2 separate regions of the Homo sapiens genome follow, and region 1 is linked to region 2. Evidence: promoter capture Hi-C in human tissues and cell types (Jung and others, 2019). All regions are on one chromosome and are shown on one strand. The core of a region is centred on a gene start or on the middle of the fragment in contact, and the rest is flanking DNA. Distances in the headings are between cores, read along the strand shown. Region 1 has its middle 200 kb from the start of SLC24A2. Region 2 holds the start of IFNA5 (interferon alpha 5).

What was found. Contacts are between HindIII fragments. The study calls those that stand out against the background at their distance.
Region 1: a fragment that was not itself captured here is called in contact with the fragment with the promoter of IFNA5 in region 2 in 1 of the 25 tissues and cell types used here (lymphoblastoid cells).

The regions. Positions count from the first base shown.
Region 1 is chr9:19,989,094-19,993,158 of GRCh38, reverse strand. It overlaps a transcript of SLC24A2 not described here. Among named protein-coding and RNA genes, the nearest start is that of SLC24A2, 200 kb to the right of the region's middle. The HindIII fragment of the contact is 5,775 bases long and covers 1-4,065 here.
Region 2 is chr9:21,302,892-21,306,920 of GRCh38, reverse strand. It overlaps IFNA5 (interferon alpha 5), which reads left to right and starts at 1,608. Exons shown (of 1, transcript NM_002169.3): 1 at 1,608-2,595. The coding sequence starts at 1,665. The coding sequence ends at 2,234. The region is part of intron 2 of LOC107987053 (a long non-coding RNA gene); the gene reads right to left. The HindIII fragment of the contact is 6,884 bases long and covers 1-4,029 here.

The sequences.
Region 1 (4,065 bases), core at 45-2,544, 1.3 Mb after region 2:
TCTTGGGCAACTGCATTCATCTTTCTGTACCTCATCTCCCTCATTTACTAAATAGGGTCAATTATGATGCTACCTTATGGGGTTGAAGGTTAATATCTATAAAGCGTACAGAGCACTTCTCTCTATGGGTTAAGGTTTGAGTAGAATAAGAATGAAAAAAATAAGGCTGACATTAGTTTGTTGGCTACCACTGACTGAGCCATGGTGGCACTAGATGTTTTGGTAGGACTTTGATAGCAAGAGTTAATCTACCCCACACTGATGAAAAATGATAGGTCGACAGATTGTCCTGCGGTTCCCAGGAAGGGATTCCCAGCTCTGACATTCACACCCTTGTGGGTTATTTAAGGTCACAAGTACATTTACTGTATGATCAGAGAAACCACATACTTGTGCAGCTGGGAGCATATTTCTGCCAATGTGCAGAGGACTGATGTGATGCTACTAACAGTGGCATGAGTGATTTTTTCCTATGAGATGAGTAAGTACCCAGTCAACTGAGATGAATTTAATCTGAACCTATGCTCCAGTGAAGTCCAAGATTCCCCAGATTCTTGCAGAAGCACATAAAATAATTAATCAAATCTTATCTCAGATGTTTTTAATCAGTTAATGAACAGTTTATTTCAGTGGTTCCAAAGACTAGCCAATTTGAATGGAACGGTAAATTGTTTGTATATAAAATGATTTGGTTTCACCCAGAGGTAGATATATTTTAGTTCTCATCCACATTGCATTTTCAACTCATGATGCATAGCCATCAGTTTTAGAATTGTAAAAATATCTTCAATAAGCAACACATAGCAAGCAAACAGACATGGTGGAAAATACAGAAATGCTGTCATCAAAGATCTGCTGCTGAAGAAAATAAGCCCCAAACCTCTACCTCTAGGTATTCCTCTTGAGCCTCAGACCTATATGACCAAGCCTATTGGACATCCCCCCGGTATATACAGAGTTGTTCTCTTGGAGATTCTCAATACACAAAGCTTTTAAAGATGTTGACAAGTCCTGTATTAAACAATGCTGTTTAATCCAATCATGTATGATAACATGCCCCTTTTTAAGTGATAACATTAATATTTCTATTTCCTAGAGGACAGAATAAGACATGCTGCCCCAACATAGATGGTTGAAGCATACCATTCACTCATTCAGCAGTCTAAAAACTTGGGTGACTTACTTTACTTCTCCTTTTCCCTCATCCATCCAGTCCCCAAGTCCTGTTGCTTTTACCTGGGAAATGTCTCTAGGGTCTCTGCCCTCCTCTCCATCTCCACTGTCAAGACTCAGTTTAAGTCTTGCTCATGTCTATTTTGAATGTCTAGACTGTTCTCCCTGCTTTCAGTTTCTCTCCTCTATAATCAACCACTGACTTATTTTCCGAAAAATAAATCTCATCATATTGCTTTTTCACTTAAAACCTCTCCTGTCTCCCCATTGCCCATACAATGAGTGAAAATTATTACCACAGACTAATTCTTAGGACAGTATAGGATGGTAGTTATAAGCATAGCATTTGGAACCAAATACAGTAGTCCTGCCTTATATATGGTAGATATGTTTCAAGGCACCCAGAGAATTCCTGAAACCATGGATAGTATTTGTGATGGTTAATATTGTCAACTTGATTGGATTGAAGGATGCAAAGTATTGTTCCCGGGTGTGTCTGTGAGGTGTTGCCAAAGGAGATTAACATTTGAATCAGTGGACTGGGAGAGGCAGACCCACCTTCAATCTGGGTAGGCACCATCTAATCAGCAGCTAGGATAAAAGCAGGCAGAAGAACATGGAAGGACTAGACTGGCTGAGTCTTCTGGCCTTTGTCTTTCTCCCATGCTGGATGCTTCCTGCCCTCGAACATCAGACTCCAAGTTCTTCAGCTTTTGGACTCTTGGACTTACACCAGTGGCTTGCTAGGGGCTCTTGGGCCTTCAGCCACAGACTGAAGGCTGCACTGTCGGCTTCCTTACTTTTGAGGTTTTGGGTCTTGGACTGGCTTCCTTGCTCCTCAGCTTGCAGATGGCCTATTGTGGGACTTCACCTTGTGATCCTGTGAGTCAATACTCCTTAATAAACTCCTTTTCATATATGTATGTATGTATGTATGTATGTATGTATGTGTGTATATATGTGTGTGTGTATGTATATATGTATACACACATATATAATACATACATATACATACATATATAGTATATATAATACATACATATACATACATATATATATATATCCTATTAGTCCTGTCCCTCTAGAGAACCCTAATACAGCACGGAACCCTATTGATACTATTTTTTTTTTTTTGATAACCAAGACAGCTACTAGGTAACAATAGGCAGGTAGCATATTCAACGTGGATCCACTGGATAAAGCGATGACTTATGTCCTGGGCAGGATGGATGGAGAGGGCCAGCATAAGATTTCATTATGCTACTCAGAATGACATGCAATTTAAGGTATATGAATTGTTTATGGAATTTTTCATTTGATATTTTCTTTTTCTTTTCCTTTTTTTTTTTTGTTTTGTTTTTTTTTTTTTGTTTTTTTAGGTGGAGTCTTGCTCTGTCGCCAGGCTGGAGTGCAGTGGTGTGATCTCTTCTCACTGCAACCTCTGCCTCCCAGGTTCAAGTGATTCCCCTGCCTCATCCTCCCAAGTAGCTGGGACTACAGGTGCCCGCCACCATGCCCGGCTAATTTTTTTGTATTTTAGTAGAGACGGGGTTTCACCATGTTGGCCAGGATGGTCTCGAACTCTTGACCTCGTGATCCACCCACCTTGGCCTCCCAAAGTGCAGGGATTAGAGGTACGAGCCACCGTGCCCAGCCTCATTTGATATCTTCTGACCGTAGGTGACCATGGGTAACCTAAACCATGGAAAGCAAAACCATGGATAAGGGGGAGACTACTACAGTTTTGTATAGGCCCTAAGACACTGATTTAATCCTCCTAAGCCCCAGTTTCCTCATCTATAAAATGGGCATAATTATGTTACAAATTTTACAGGATTATGGTGATGATTAAATGAGATAATGCAGGCACAACACTTAACACAATACCTAAAATATTGAAAATGTTTATAATTTTAGTCATTCTTTTAGTCTTATACATAACTCTAAAGAACTGAGCCCTAGCTCACCAGTCTCATCATTTCACAGCCTTTTCCCAGCCACCTATGTTTTAGCCACAGGAAATTCTAACTTTTCTCTGACATTCTAGGCACTTACCTGTCTCTATGATTTTGTGCTGTCCATTCCCTCTCTGCATAGTGCTATTACCTGCTTCTATAGTGGAAATGTCCTCACTCCAAGAGACCATTATGCAGCTTGAAAGAACTTATCGTTACAAAGCCCATGCACTTTTCTGTACAAGAACATCTTGAAGGGTTAGCATGCTTATTTGGAATTGGGTGGAAATGTAAATCTACTGACTTGACCCATGTAGTTGTCTAGGTTCCTTTGCAAGAGAAGGGAGAGAGGGAAAGTTCTTCTTAGTTGACAGAGGGATCAGATTAAAAGCAGCAAGGGAAGAACTATAAGATACCATGGTAAGAAGCAAAGGCTAAGAAACAGGGAGGACCAGGAATAGTGACAGATCACTTAGTATAAAGCATAACCTAAGAACACTATGGAATTCACATCCACTTTAACAAACTCTTATCTAAAAGGACTGACTGGACTAGGTGTCATAACTGACATTCTTTATGATGATCATCAAAAATTAGTAATAGTAGTGCACTCATGTTTTTTAGTAAGTGCTTATGATGTGTCAGCATTATGTTAAGTATTTTTTATGTTAAGAGCGACTCATTCTCATTGTAGTATTATCACCTCCCTCTCATTTTAAAAATGAGAAAAATGAAGCTTATAGAGACTAAGAGACTCTTCCAAGGTACTTAGTGAGTGACAGAGTTCTAATGATTCTGGAGCTCATGATCAAAACCATTTATAATATTCTCTCCTTATATAAAGTTATTATGGTTAATGAACTCTACTTACCAAACACACATGGAATAATGTAAATACATATTTATTATTAACATCTATGATTAAAATATATTTTTA
Region 2 (4,029 bases), core at 359-2,858:
AAAATGGTTTTCTTCAGTTTGAGGAGAATCAACTAGAATTGGAACCTCTGTGGGTTCTTTGGAAATCTGACCTTTCATGACAAATAATATTTTTAAAATCAAATTGATGACATTTTTCTCCATTGCATATACTCATTAAGTATAATATTGCTTCCAAGAATGTAAAAGTTATTTCTTGGGGCCCTCTAAAGTTCAACTCTGTCTGACAAAACTTTATTCCTTAGTATTTTTTTAATTGAGTTCTTGTTGTTGTTGTTTGTTTGTTTGCTTGCTTTTTGAGGCGGAGTCTCGCTCTGTTGCCAGGCTGGAGTGCAGTGGGGTGGTCTCGGCTCACTGCAACCTCCGACTCCCTGGTTCAAGCAATTCTCCTGCCTCAGCCTCCCGAGTAGCTGGGATTACAGGCACGTGCCACCACGCCCAGCTAATTTTTGTATTTTTAGTAGAGACGGGCTTTCACCATGTTGTCCAGGAGGGTCTTGATCTCCTGACCTTGTAATCCACCCACCTCAGCCTCCCAAAGTGCTGGGATTACAGATGTGAGCCACCGCGCCTGGCCTAATTTGGTTTTCTTGTAACATCAGAAGCATTGACCTTGAGTTCATGGAAGATACACAAAAGGTATACAAGATCAGTGCTACAAGCATATGGCAAATGGGTGGCTGTTATTGGAGGACTTTCCAAGATTTATTAGATGTCAAAGTCATATCATGTGAGGTGGCCTCTGTATACATATGAGCTGTCATTTGCTGTCTTGTGTATGTTGCTTATATTTGATCCTGAGCATTTATGACTGTGTTTTGAGTTTTGAGGTTTCAATAAAAATACTTTATCTTTTACTATTTAATTCTACTAAAGTTGTTCAACACATCAATAATTATGTCAAGCACTGAAGAGAAAAAGGTTTTTGACAATATCTAGATCAATATCTAGAAGCTAGTGAATTTTTTAAATTTCCCTATGAAGCAAAATTGAAAGTACCCTAAAAATAAATGTTACAAATAATTTCAATTTTAATAGTCTTTAGCTATTTTGAATTTTTAAATATTTCATTATACTAGGCAATATTATATATTTTCATAATTTGTTAATTTACTTATTTAATCTGACACACTACAATTTATATAAGTAAATAAATCACATTGTTACTTAAACAAATTGAACTATGAAGTTAAATATCCATAAATTGTAAATTTAATTATTAACTTTTACCTTAGAATTTTCATTTGCTCATTCTTAATCCGGGACTGAATAAATTCTATTTTACATTCTATTACGCTGCTTTTAAAGCATTAAAGAAGTACAATATTCTCTCTCGATAATGGGTACTGTAATGTATATACATCAGCCAACACATAGTATATCTGTGTTATTAAAATTTAATGGGATTTTTAGTTAGAAAAAAAATTTCTAAAAAGCATATGTGGCAGAGGAAGATGAGGTAATAATGTAAAAATAAATAAACTGAGAAACACTCCTGTACATCTATGTAGAAAGAGCATAAAAGAAAGCAAAAAGAGAAGTAGAAAGTAACACAAGGCATTCAGAAAATGGAAACTCGTATGTGACCTTTTTAAGATCTGTGCACAAAACAAGGTCTTCAGAGAAGAGCCCAAGGTTCAGGGTCACTCAATCTCAACAGCCCAGAAGCATCTGCAACCTCCCCAATGGCCTTGCCCTTTGTTTTACTGATGGCCCTGGTGGTGCTCAACTGCAAGTCAATCTGTTCTCTGGGCTGTGATCTGCCTCAGACCCACAGCCTGAGTAACAGGAGGACTTTGATGATAATGGCACAAATGGGAAGAATCTCTCCTTTCTCCTGCCTGAAGGACAGACATGACTTTGGATTTCCTCAGGAGGAGTTTGATGGCAACCAGTTCCAGAAGGCTCAAGCCATCTCTGTCCTCCATGAGATGATCCAGCAGACCTTCAATCTCTTCAGCACAAAGGACTCATCTGCTACTTGGGATGAGACACTTCTAGACAAATTCTACACTGAACTTTACCAGCAGCTGAATGACCTGGAAGCCTGTATGATGCAGGAGGTTGGAGTGGAAGACACTCCTCTGATGAATGTGGACTCTATCCTGACTGTGAGAAAATACTTTCAAAGAATCACCCTCTATCTGACAGAGAAGAAATACAGCCCTTGTGCATGGGAGGTTGTCAGAGCAGAAATCATGAGATCCTTCTCTTTATCAGCAAACTTGCAAGAAAGATTAAGGAGGAAGGAATGAAAACTGGTTCAACATCGAAATGATTCTCATTGACTAGTACACCATTTCACACTTCTTGAGTTCTGCCGTTTCAAATATTAATTTCTGCTATATCCATGACTTGAGTTGAATCAAAATTTTCAAACGTTTCACACGTGTTAAGCAACACTTCTTTAGCTCCACAGGGACAAAATCTTTACAGATGATCATGCCAATCTATCTATTCTATCTATTTATCTATCTGTCTGTCTTCTATCTAATCTATTTAAATATTTATTTATTTATAAGATTTAAATTATTTTAAATTATGTTTGTTCAGGTAATATTACATCCACCTTTACTTTGTGGCTAATATAATAAAATATGTTCTTTATGTTTTGTCAACTGATTATTTTGCTTTGTTCATTAGATTTTTACTATTAATTGTTTGTTTATTCTTTAAAATGAAACTCCAAGCCTGATTGTATAACTTGATTAAAAACAGATGGTACAGTTCAGTTACCTATCATTATTTTATTCAAATTTTAAGTAAAGGAAGATTTTTCTTAAGTGAACATAATAAATACAATTCCTGTTCCCTTGTATCTTTGATTTTTGCCAGAAATTTAACAACAATAATTATGATTAATATGAGTTATGTTAAATGCTATAATGTGAGCTAGGAAAAAAAACAGTGAATTGCTCTCAGCAGAACGCAGATAGAGGCACGTCCAGAAAGAAAAATAAAAGCAGAGCTAGCCTCTCTAAACTGACTTTTAAACATGTAATTGCGAATGTGCATTGCTAGTCAGATACATGAGTTTGCAATATCCAAGGAATACAATGTCTGGAGGATCATAACTGGCAACCAAATGCCTAAAAATGGAGGCTGTCATGTGAGGAGCCAATGTAGAGAAGAAAATAAGACTTAAACTAGATTCTGAGGACCTTCCACCATTAAAGAGAGGGAAGAGGAGAGACACAAAGGAAACAGAGGTGGAATACCTTAAACATTAGAAGGACAAGAGGGAATGATGATAAAAATGTATTTAGAAAATAAATGTACTTAGAAGAAGAATCAATAGACTTATGGGAAATGTGGATTAAAACTGCCCAGAACATCAGAAAAATAGATGGCGGTGGAGATCTTGGTGAGAGCTGGATTGGCAGAATTAATCAGTACAAACCATACTGGAGTAGGTGGAAGAGTGAATCAGAGAAGAGAAATCAGTGATAACCATATGTAGGAAATAATTGTGACATGTTTGCCATGGAAATGGAGGGGGGAAATAAGGTTGGACTTGAAAAAGAATGTGTACTATTTTTTATCTACATAGTTTTTCTTTTTTGAAAATAGAGTTCGTGGATTCAATCTATTGGCAAGTCATGTTAATATGTTTAATATTTTATGTATTTAAATCATAATATTATTTGCATAATAATTTATTATTATTTTGATTAATACTATGTTACATGTCAGGAAAAAATGACAAACTTCCCTCATGAAATAAAATGGGAAACTGGATGAGAGAATCTCTTTATACTTTTGGCCAAAACCAGCTGAAAATACGTGAACCAAAGAGAAATTCAGAGTGCGGCAGAGAGTTGCATATAACTCAGTAGTAAGAGGAGATGTAATAATTATTACAGAAATCCTGAATACAAAGCTTATACCTCAGGTGTAAATAAAAATAAAGAATTTTACATTGAAATTACATTCTGCTTACATGTAAGCGTGATGTTCAGAAAACCACTTAATCTCTCTGAGCCTCAGTTTTCTTTTGAAAATATACTTTCTACATTAAAAAAGCAATACATATCACTGTTATTTTCTTTT